Linked DNA regions of Homo sapiens: regions 2, 3 and 4 are each linked to region 1. Evidence: promoter capture Hi-C in human tissues and cell types (Jung and others, 2019). All regions are on one chromosome and are shown on one strand. The core of a region is centred on a gene start or on the middle of the fragment in contact, and the rest is flanking DNA. Distances in the headings are between cores, read along the strand shown. Region 1 holds the start of LYZL2 (lysozyme like 2). Region 2 has its middle 36 kb from the start of LYZL2. Region 3 has its middle 38 kb from the start of LINC02644. Region 4 has its middle 36 kb from the start of LYZL2.

Region 1 (2,700 bases), core at 30-2,529:
GAGGTGGAGGTTGCAATGAGCCGAGATCACACTACTGAGCTCCAGCCTGGACAACAGAGGGAGACTCTGTCTCAATTAAAAAAAAAAAAAAAGAGAGAGAGAGAGAGAAAAAAGTCCACAAATGGCTTCTGAAGATAAGAAAAGATGCTCAGACAGCTTGAAATAAGGGAAGCTGAAATTGAAACTTTGCTGACAAATTATGTTTCATCTCTAATATTAGCAAATATCTTAACCTTTGGTAATAGGGTATGCTAGCCATCTTCGTCATACAAGCCCACGTGGAAGGCAATTTGGCAATATCTAGCAAAATTACAAAATTACAGTCCTTAACCCAGCAATTCAATTTCCAGGAATGTATCCTACAGATATTCTTGCAAATGTACAAATGACAAATGTACAAGATTACTAATTGTAATATGTTTATCATAGAAGAAAAAAATACCTTAAGTGTGAGTCAATATGGAATTGGCTAAATATGTTATATCTACACAATGTAATACTATATAAACTTAAAACTAGATTTCAACAAGATCTTTGCATTATTTGCAGATGGAATTTAATAAAATACAATAATTAGTTAGGTACAACTAACAACAAACTTATACTGAGATCTACATATTCCAATGAGAATTCATTTCAAATGTGTCATTAAATCTGAACACAGAAATAAATGGACCTTCAAACTAGCTCTTTATTGAGTCACAAAGTGTTAAGCCAAATTTTTAAAAAACAATGAAATCATGTTAATTATACATAAAAATTTTTTATTTCTTTTGTGGCCCTCCTTTGACAATATTTTATTAATTAACAATATAACTATAGCAAAGAAATGTGCTGTTAATTAATTTTTAATGTTAATTTCACCTCTCATTCATTTTCAGATTTTAGTTTTGTGTATGTTGATAATTTATGTAGCATATTAGTACAGAGGTACAGAAGTGTGATTTATAATTTAATATACATCTAAAGAGGATACATGCTTAACTTTATTAATGGAATTTGTGATAAAGTTTGCAGACTGTTGCCTTAGAGAAGAGCTCTCACTTGGACGGGAGGCCCTGGCCAAGTTGTGTAGTGAGGACAGTTGTTGAGAGGAAAAGAGAAAAAACGAGAGGTATTAAGGCCCAGAAGAGAGTTAGCACCTGCTTCAGAACACAAGCGTGCAGGATGATATAGCTTTTAGTGCCAAGAAGTAGAATTCTAGCATCTCTAGGTGGTGAGAAACAAAGGACTAAGAATTTTTCTTTCTCTAACACTCTAAAGAAAGGTTCTTGAGCTAGGAAAGGATTACTCGAGCCTTGTTAGAATCAGACATGGCTTCAGGGGATGCAGGACGCTCCCCTGAGCTGCCTGTCACCGACTAAGTGGAGCAGTGTTTCTTCCGCAGACTCAACTGAGAAGTCAGCCTCTGCGGCAGGCACCAGGAATCTGCCTTTTCAGTAAGACCTAAATTACTCTTATGAAGCCACCTGTCCCTGAGAACCAGCAATGGCAGGTTCTTGAAGGATGTAGAACATGATGCTTGGGGTTATCATTGCTACGGGTTTTGTTTTGACTTGTTTGAGATCAGTTAACATTCTAAGGCAGAGGATGGAAACCAACCTTATTTGTAAGCTCTGCATCTTTTTTTTTTTTTTTGAAACAGGATGTCACTCTGTTGCCCAGGCTGGAGTGCAGTGGCACAATCACAACTCACAACAGCCTCAACCTCCCAGCCTTAAAAGATCCTCCCACCTCAGCCTCCCAAACAGGTGGGACCACAGTCACACACCACTATGCCTGGCTAATTTTTGTGTATTTTGTAGTGACAGAGGTCTACCTTTGTTGCCCAGGCTGGTCTCAAACTCCTGGCTTCAAGCAATTTGCCCTTTTCACCCTCACAAAGTGCTGAGATTACAGGTGTGGGCCACCATGCCCAGCCTAAGCTCTGCATCTTAAACCTCGTTTGTCTGTCCCTCACAGCTTAGCACAATGCTGTACACCACGGACTGGCATGATCTCTCTGAAAAGGGCCAGATAATAATATGTTAGGCTTTGTGGTCTATACAGCCTCTAACACAGCTACTCAACTCTGCCACTGCAGCAGGAAATCAGCCACCAACAATATATTACCAAATGATGAGAGTAGCTATGTTTCAATAAAACTTTACATACAAAAGCGGGCCTGGTTTGCCCACGCTTGCTATTCACGTTTGTAATGTACATGCCCCTCATGCAATGCAGTTCCTTATCTTATTGCTTAGTCACCTTAAAGCCCTGCTTGTTACTCGGTGCGGTGGCCTTGCTGATGACTACTTATCCCTGTTTTGGGCCTAGCCTTTCAATGCAGGAATCCAGCCCCAGGGAGAGAAACTAATGACTAGAGAAGTTTCCAGGCAAGTGCAGAAAATGACACGGGATGAACATATGTAAGAACATCAAGTTCAGGATCCCGAGTAGTTGTCAGAAATTTCACTTCACCCCATCCCAGCAAGGCTGTTGTGTTTGGGGAAGACATTATTTTAAGAGGGGAGGAGATTGTGGAAAATCAGTAGGCAGCAGGAGACAGCGCTCTTGATCCTACTCCCATTTCAGACGATTCTATGGGGGCCTCTTTATTGTCCCTCTGCTCCCCCAGGTGCTTTCCTCCTTTCATGAGGCTTTGTCCTCCATCCCTCTTGCTCCCCAGTCAGGTGCCAGACTTTTAGGAGGCCGCCCGGA
Region 2 (2,700 bases), core at 52-2,551, 36 kb before region 1:
GGTGGCTGAAATATCCCAGCTACAAGGTAAGAACCTGGCGTTTGTGGAGACATGGAGATAGCCTCTGGCTGGGTGGGATATGGAAGGGTGGATGGTTGGGGTGGGGGCCGGCAGGCAGGAAACACAGGAGCCTCCAGCCGGTCCCTCTAGGGCAGAACGCCACAGAGGTGTGAGGTGGATTCTTCAACAGTTCAGGGAGTTCCACGAAGTCCTAACACGCCACCAACTTCCCAAAGTGAAACAATGGCTCTTGTATTCTTTTCCAATGTTCTTCTTCGCCAAATAAGAAAGCTCAGATGCCACTGTTTCTGACATTGTGGAAATAAGATTTCTAAAGGCCTAATGTACTCTTTAAGCAATAGTAAAGGTTTTATCCCTAAATAACGTAAGAATTATTTAATTCACAATCTTTCTCAAAGAAGTTCCCAAACAGGGATAATTTAAACACAAATAATTTAGACAGTTATAAAACAACGATTTTACTAATCCAGTGGGAAAGTCGGTTGCATCCTATGTTTTATGCTGGTTATGGTTCAAATTTGACATTCACAATGTCAGAAAAGATGAAAACAGAAAAATAACTTTTTGGTATATTTTCTTGAGCAGCAAACATTTTCTAAAAAAGGAGGGTGTGGAGGGTTTCCTATAATTTCTTAATTTCTCCACTTTTTGTCTCCAAGTGGGGATAATATTGCTTTCTTCTGAAGGCTGTCTTCAACATCAAATGAGATATCGTGCAAAATGTGGAAGGCAGTCTGTGATGCTGGGTAGCACTGAGCATGGAGCATTCAATATAGTCAGGCCCCGGACAGGGGAGAGACTGACGCAACAAGGCTGAAGAAGACAGACCTGCCCTCCTTAGCGGGCGCAGCCATTTATAAAAAACGATAAAGGAAATCTGTAAATTCCAGGCTCTATTTCTTAGACTCTGAAATGTGAATGTGGATGTGTAATTTTAAATAAGCCCTGTTAAGAGCATGTGAACTGAGAAAATTCATGAAGAAAGAGGGTGTGTTTTTCTAACTTGCTGTCTAGCTGGAATTTCTGTCCTTTTACCATATTCTCCTGTTTAGAGCACACGGGGTTGGCTGCTGTAACACTAATCTGAGCACACCACGGTCTCGCCATGGACCAGGGGAGAGATGGAGACGTGGCACCTGGGTCAGTTCTATTCACTACGTGGCCCTGGAGGCTACTGGAGCCGAATCCCTCCTTTAGTAAAATGAGGCAGTCAGAGGTGTGTAGAATAAAGTTTGAAAGTCCTATGATTTTATATATTTCTTTCTCAAGAAAGAAAAGTAAAGCCCAAATGTAGGAATAACATTCTTATTTTAAATAGTTTAAGCTTCATTATTTCATTTTCACAAAAGGGAGAGATGAAAGTCTCATTTAGGAAAAAGCTATCACAGATAAATTGTAAAAATCTGTGGTTTAGGCTGGGTGTAGTGGCTCATGCCTGTAATTACAGCACTATGGGAGGCTGAGGCTGAGGATCACCTGAGGTCAGGAGTTCCAGACCAGCCTAGCCAACATGGTGAAACCCCGTCTCTACTAAAAATACAAAAATTAGCTGGATGTGGTGGTGCATGCCTGTAATCCCAGCTACTTGGGTGGTTGAGGCAGGAGAATCACTTGAACCCGGGAGGCGGAGGTTGCAGTGAGCCGAGATTACTCCACTGCACTCCGGCCTGGGTGACAGAGAGAGACTCTGTCTCAAAATAAATAAATTAAAATAAAAAGAAATAAGAAAATTGGGTTTTTTGTCTTTCACAGAGAGTCCTAAACATTGACAGAATCATTCCACTTCACAGCCGTTCCCCATCTGCACCCATCCTACCTGGACACAAGGCCATGCCCCATCTATACCTGTCCTACCTGGACACGAGGCCATGCCCCATCTATACCTGTCCTACCTGGACACGAGGCCACTGACTTGCCTTTGAAAACTCTGGGGGAGAGCCGATGCGAGCACAGCGTGGACCACCTCATTTCCAGGTACCGTGAACTATTAATTTTCTTTTCTTTTTTTTTTTTTGATATTGCCCTTTTTTTTTTTTTAAGATAGAATCTCACTCTGTCACCCAGGCTGGAGTGCAATGGCACAATCTTAGCTCACTGCAACCTCTGACTCCCAGGTTCACGCAATTCGCTGCCTCAGCCTCCCAAGTAGCTGGGATTACAGGTGCCTGCCACCATGCCCAGCTAATTTTTGTATTTTTAGTAGAGACCTGGTTTCACCGTCTTGGCCAGGCTGTTTTTGAACTCTGGACCTCGTGATCCACCCGCCTCGGCCTCCCAAAGTGCTGGGATTACAGGCGTAAGCCACCGCACCTGGCCTAATTTTCATTTTTTTTTTTTTTGAGACGGAGTCTCGCTCTGTCGCCCAGGCTGGAGTGCAGTGGCACGATCTCGGCTCACCGCAAGCTCCACCTACCAGGTTCATGCCATTCTCCTGTCTCAGCCTCCCGTAGCTGGGATTACAGGTGCCCGCCACCATGCCCGACTAATTTTTTGTATTTTTAGTAGAGATGGGATTTCACCGAGTTAGCCAGGATGGTCTCGATCTCCTAACCTCGTAATACACCCGCCTCGGCCTCCCAAAGTGCTGGGATTACAGGCGTGAGCCACCGCGCCCGGCCCAATTTTCTTTTTGATATGAAATCTCATCTGCCTCCTTGTAATTCTACACGTTATTCTTAC
Region 3 (2,700 bases), core at 145-2,644, 56 kb before region 1:
TGGTAGTAAGAACCCACTTACAAATAAATTCAGATTTTTAAGATGGAAGAGGAAAAAAGAAACCAAAGCAGAAAGTCATCAAGATGAAAGTCTGGGCTAGAAGTTGGAAAACCTGAGGTCTGGTTCAGGTTCTCAGTTCCAGTTCTACTTAGTCACCCTGCACCTAACGACGTGCTTCTGTTAAAGAAGGGTTGGGGCTCACGTTAAAGGAGTTTAAACATGAGTGTCCAGTTCTGTGATCTGATGCAGAAAATTGGCAAATAATTTACTGTAAGAGTAAATTATCTTCTCTCATCTTTTCACAATTCCAAGATGAGGCTGAAGAGATGTATTGGAAGGGATTCCCCACTAAGATTTGAGTTATTTACAATTCAGGGATTTCCCCTCCTTTCCTTCTGCAAACATTTATTATGTACCTATAATGAATTAGGTACTATTCATGAAAGCATGGACCCCTAAAGGTTCTGAGAAAAAGGAAAGCTAAGCCTATAAAGTTGATGACAAGATGTTAAGACAAAGTGAATGTGAAAATGTTTACCACTAAGTTGGGAAATCTGCTTTTAAATAATAGCTTAGAAAATGATGGTATGTGCATATAGGTGACAAAGGGACCCCAAATTTTAACGATTTCCTGCAGGACATGAAACAAAGCCCCAAACACTCCTATGAAGACTTAAAGCTCTCAGATGACTTTACTAAGTATTTCATATGTAAGTCAATTTCATAAATGTTTGAATACAGACAACAAATCAGTTCCAAGAGCTCAGCAGCAAAGAATGGACTGCCCCAGAGACATCCCACTGCCTTGGAACTGAGGACATATTTTAGACATCTATTAAAGCATATCCAGGATTGACTTTGGTCAGTCAGAGAAATCAGGTTTGATGGAGAAGGACCCAGGAATTAATATAAAAGGAAGAGGAGACAAACTTCTCTATTGTGAAAGGCTGACTTGGGGTAAGTGGTTGCCAGGTCACAAGAAAATGGAAACGATTTAAAAGTAATTATGGGAAAGGACCAAGATTTGCTAGCAGACCTGAATTGCTTTTGAAACCTACAATTGCATTCAATTCTAAAGGGGTAAGTTTTGAAATAGTGACAAATTAAATTATGCATTTGAAGATGACACTATTTATGACAAAAAGATATTCAGTAGGACTATCTCACAGAACCTACCCAAAAAACATGTACAGAATGTCAGTAAGTTTAAAACTTTTTAAAGAAAGCTGGACAGGGTGTCTCACGCCTGTAGTCCTAGCTACTTGGGAGACTGAGGCGGAAGGATCACTTAAGCCCAGGAGTTTGAGACCAGCCTGGGAAACACAGTGACACCCCATTTCTACATAAAAGTTTTAAAAAGCCAGGCATGGTGTTGCACACCTGTAGTCCCAGCAACTAGAGAAGCTGAGGTGGGAAGATTGCTTCAGCCCATGAGTTTGGGGCTGCAGTGAGCCATGACTGAGCCACTGCACTCCAGCCTAGGCAACAGGGCAAGACCTTGTATCTTAAAAAAAAAAAAAAAATTAAAGAGACCATGGTTTCTTCTTTTAAATTGAGCTATCGTGTACCACCATGCCCTCCATGGGTGAGTGTGCTCACATGTGTGCATTGTGCACACACCACACACATACACAGGCACACACACACAACTGACCTTTCTTCACCATCCTGCCAGCCACAGTGAACTGGGTCGAGTCGTTGGCCGCTCCTCTGCCTCTCGTCTTCCAGGCCTCCTCTCTCACAGTGATGAGCTGCTTCCTCTCCTCAATCATCATTTGGCTCTCTCGACTTTCTGTGACCCGCTGTTCATAAATGTACAGAAGAGAAAACAGGAGAGAGAAATGACAGCGGTGTGGATCTCAGCCTGCAGCATTTCATGCGTGAAAAAAGCAGGTAGACAAAGAGGAGTAAGTATATTGTCCAAAGATGTTCAAAAATGTTCTATCTGAAATGGGCTCAGCTTCCTTACGTGCAGGTTGGGTGGGAGATCACCATTGGCGATGCTGTAACTTTAGATGAACGCCTCTGTCCTGTGACTTACCGGTTTGGGGCACTGGAGCACCAGAACAATTCTTTGTAAACACAAACAATTAAAAATAGATTGTTTTCATGCCCTGGACTCTACAGGGTTTTAAAGTTTCTCTGTCTTAACCCATCTAGTTAAACTCAGTTAACTGGGAGATTTTTATCCCTATATACTCACAAAGAACATGATTGATCTAGAAAACTTTATCCATGTGAGCACACGAGGAACTTGCCCAGTTAGAGACAGGGAAGGCTGGTTAGGAATAAGGGGCAGGAGGTTTTCTGGCACTCTGCTTGGTTTTTCCTGCAGCCACTGATGTTCTGCGGGCAGGTAGACAACCAGGAGAGCCCACAGAAGTGGCTTTAAACTGTGAGACATCTGATGTTGAGGGTGAACTATGCTGTAGAAAAAACCTACATGCACGGTAACATTTCTACGTAAAATGCTCTCAGCAGTTTCTAATTGGAAAATTTCTGGAGAGATCTGCTTCTTCCATTTCCAAGCCATTGGTGATGCTCATTAAGCTTGTGGTTGGGGATGTGGCAGGAGGGGAAGGGGAAGAAGCTACAGGGGACTCAAAGGGTATCAGGAAAGGAGGAGGGGCTCAGGACAGGCCTAGGATGAGGAGATGGGACTGAGGAGGGAGGGAGAGGAGCAGCGATGGAGGCAGAGGA
Region 4 (2,700 bases), core at 133-2,632, 36 kb after region 1:
AGAAGGCAGGATGTGCTATAACAAGAAGAAGAAAGGAAGAGCCAGTCAAGGGGCATTAGGAATGCAGGGGCAGGAGGTGCAGATTGAAATATTCAGCATGGCGCTGGCACGGGTCTTATGGGAAAGGTTCAGCACAGCGCAGAGGGGCCATGAGGCAGGCCCTTTCCTGGGAGACACAGACTGCTCTGCAGAGATTACGTCCTGAGGCTTCACTGCAGCCTGGGACTGTCCCACCTGACTCTCCCTCTCTCTCCTGCATTGGAGATCTGACCTGCATCCCAACCTGATGCCTCCCTCAGCCTCCTCCCTCCTTCCTGATATCTTCTCTTGGGCAGATGCTCTCGGAAAAGCCTCGCTCACTGAATCCCCCCCCACCCCTCGGGCATCTGTATCTCAGGGGACCGGGTTGGCACACCAGGGAAGGATGCCAGCTTCTGCACTGAAGGAAAAGGGCAGCACTGCAGGGCTCAGAGAGAGAAGGAGTGCCATGAGAGCTGCTCTGAAAGGATTGTCCTGACGCAGTTTTGAAGAGAACCCTTAGGAGTAGCAGGAGTCACAGCAGGAGACCAGGTGGAATGTTCTAGGTTCTGCCACAGCCAGGAAATGATGACGCCACTGTGACCCGGGGCAGCAGACAGGTGGGAGAAGTGGTCTGACTCTGGGTGTATTTTAAAGATACAACCAACAGGATTTCCTGGTGGATTAAGTGTGCCGTGTGAGAGAAAGAGGAGTCAAGGATGTTCAGCCTAGGAAGCTAGACCAATGGAGCCACCAACACCTGGAATGGGGGAACCTGTGGGCGGAGCAGATCTGGGGGAAATTTGGACACATCGGTGTGACGTCTCCTAGACATCCAAGCCACCATCTCAAGGAGGGACTTGGACGAATGTGTGTGCACTTTGGGAGAAAGTTCAGGGCTGGCAATGGACATGCAGGGGTTGTTATGTGTAGATAAACAGATGTTTAAAGACAAGGGACAGGATAAGGCCTCAGTGGGGAGATGAGGAAGTGATGAGGCTGGAAACCAAGAAGGAACTGCAGCAAATCTCAACTGATTTAGAGGTTTATTTTGCCAAGGTTGAGGATGAGCTCAGGAAAAAATTACACACACACACGCAGGTTACAGGAACATATGTAGCCTGTGCTTTTGTCCAAAGAGGGTTTTGACAACTTCAGTGTTTAAAAGGGAAAGAATGGGCAGGAGAGGAAGGAGGAAAGGAAAAAAAGGGAGGGTTGGCAAAAAGAACACTGATTAGTACACACTGAATCCACATTTTACATGTGAAAAGGGGAGGTCAATTATGCATTTGTCTGTGCTCAGTAAATCTACATTCTACAGAAGATAAAGTAAGCATGTGAAATTACAGCTATCTAGGAAAAAAAGGAAGGCAGTTGTTGGTTTGTTGTTTGTTTGTTTCAGCATAACTCAGTTGCCAAGATTCACTTTTCCCTTTGGCATGGTGAGTTTGGGGTCCAGGGATTTTATTTTCCTTTTGCAAGTCCAAAGATATTGTGACATTACAAGATTAAGGTGCAGCGAATGACACAGCAGAGAAGGCAGAGTGACCAAGGAGCAGGAGGAAAACCAAGAGAAGGTGGCGTCCGGATGCCAAGGGGAAAAAGATCATGAAAGAGAAGGGACCATCAACACACCCCAGCTGCTGAAGCCCAGGACAATGAGGACAGAGGAATGGCCATTGGATCTAGCAGTGCAGAGGTCATTAGTGACCGTTAAGGAAAATGCTGGATCTGGCTTTTCCTTTCAGAGGCCACAACTTCCACATGTGGGTCCCCTACACTCATCACCAGGGACACAGGCTCCAGACCACCCTGATCCCTGATGACCGCAACTTCTGAAGCAGCTCTGCCCACTCTACATTCTCCTCTGAGCCTGGTCTCTGCTCCTTGAGGGAGGGGACAGCCTGCCCGAGTGCTGAGCCACACTCCCTGCTGACCTGAGCATGGGAGCAAAGTGCTGCACTTGCTCTTTTTACCAGGTGGTTTCCAGAGACAATGTTCCTCAACGAAAGGAAAGTGTCCTAGTGATTGGAACTGCACCTCGAAGAGCTTGAGTCTCAGAAGGAGAATCACTGGGCCAAGTGTGATGGGAGTAGGGCCCTGGTCCCAGCTCTTCTAGTGACCAGTGTTGTGGGTGAGCCACAATTATCTGGACCGGTGGCATGGGGGTAAAAGAATTTACCAAGACAGTTGTAGATAAAGAAAGGCAGATTTGTTTGTTTAAAAAAAGCATGAAAATATGTTGCAAGAAGGCAACGGGCAGCCAGCAGAAGAGCAGCTGACAGCCAGGAGGCAGAGGCTTGCTGGGGATTTTATAGGATGGTGCTTGTGCTGTGTGCTGGAGAGGGCTGTGTGTGGTACTGACAACGCCAAGGTTGCAGTGAGCCAACTTGCAGGTGTCTGGTGATACCTGGGCACAGGAAGATTGTGAGTTATTTGCACAGGAGGGCTGTGTGTCTGGACCATGAAGAAAGGCAGACTTACAGCTTACCTGTTTCCCCTTTTTGCTTTCCCCTCCTCCCACCAGCCTGACTCCTTTTTACTAATTAGGACTCCAGACCCAGCTCTGTCCCTGTACTCACCTCACCCTTCTCGGCCTTATCCGCTTCCTCTGTGGAATAAGGGGATCTGCCACCAGATTCTCACGCTATCTGGATGATAGAAGCCCCACATGCCACTCGG

Evidence for each region. The method cuts DNA at HindIII sites, captures the fragments that hold promoters and counts their contacts. A contact is called where the count stands out against the background at its distance.
Region 2: a contact is called between a fragment that was not itself captured here and the fragment with the promoter of LYZL2 in region 1, in 4 of the 25 tissues and cell types used here (adrenal gland, aorta, liver and 1 more).
Region 3: a fragment that was not itself captured here is called in contact with the fragment with the promoter of LYZL2 in region 1 in 4 of the 25 tissues and cell types used here (aorta, lymphoblastoid cells, spleen and 1 more).
Region 4: a contact is called between a fragment that was not itself captured here and the fragment with the promoter of LYZL2 in region 1, in 1 of the 25 tissues and cell types used here (mesenchymal stem cells).

What each region holds. Positions count from the first base shown.
Region 1 is chr10:30,628,332-30,631,031 of GRCh38, reverse strand. LYZL2 (lysozyme like 2) reads left to right here and starts at 1,279. Exons shown (of 5, transcript NM_183058.3): 1 at 1,279-1,439. The HindIII fragment of the contact is 10,435 bases long and covers 1-2,700 here.
Region 2 is chr10:30,664,698-30,667,397 of GRCh38, reverse strand. No RefSeq gene overlaps it. Among named protein-coding and RNA genes, the nearest start is that of LYZL2, 36 kb to the right of the region's middle. The HindIII fragment of the contact is 3,953 bases long and covers 1-2,700 here.
Region 3 is chr10:30,684,364-30,687,063 of GRCh38, reverse strand. No RefSeq gene overlaps it. Among named protein-coding and RNA genes, the nearest start is that of LINC02644, 38 kb to the left of the region's middle. RefSeq lists an enhancer at 2,583-2,700. The HindIII fragment of the contact is 9,414 bases long and covers 1-2,700 here.
Region 4 is chr10:30,592,580-30,595,279 of GRCh38, reverse strand. No RefSeq gene overlaps it. Among named protein-coding and RNA genes, the nearest start is that of LYZL2, 36 kb to the left of the region's middle. The HindIII fragment of the contact is 8,147 bases long and covers 1-2,700 here.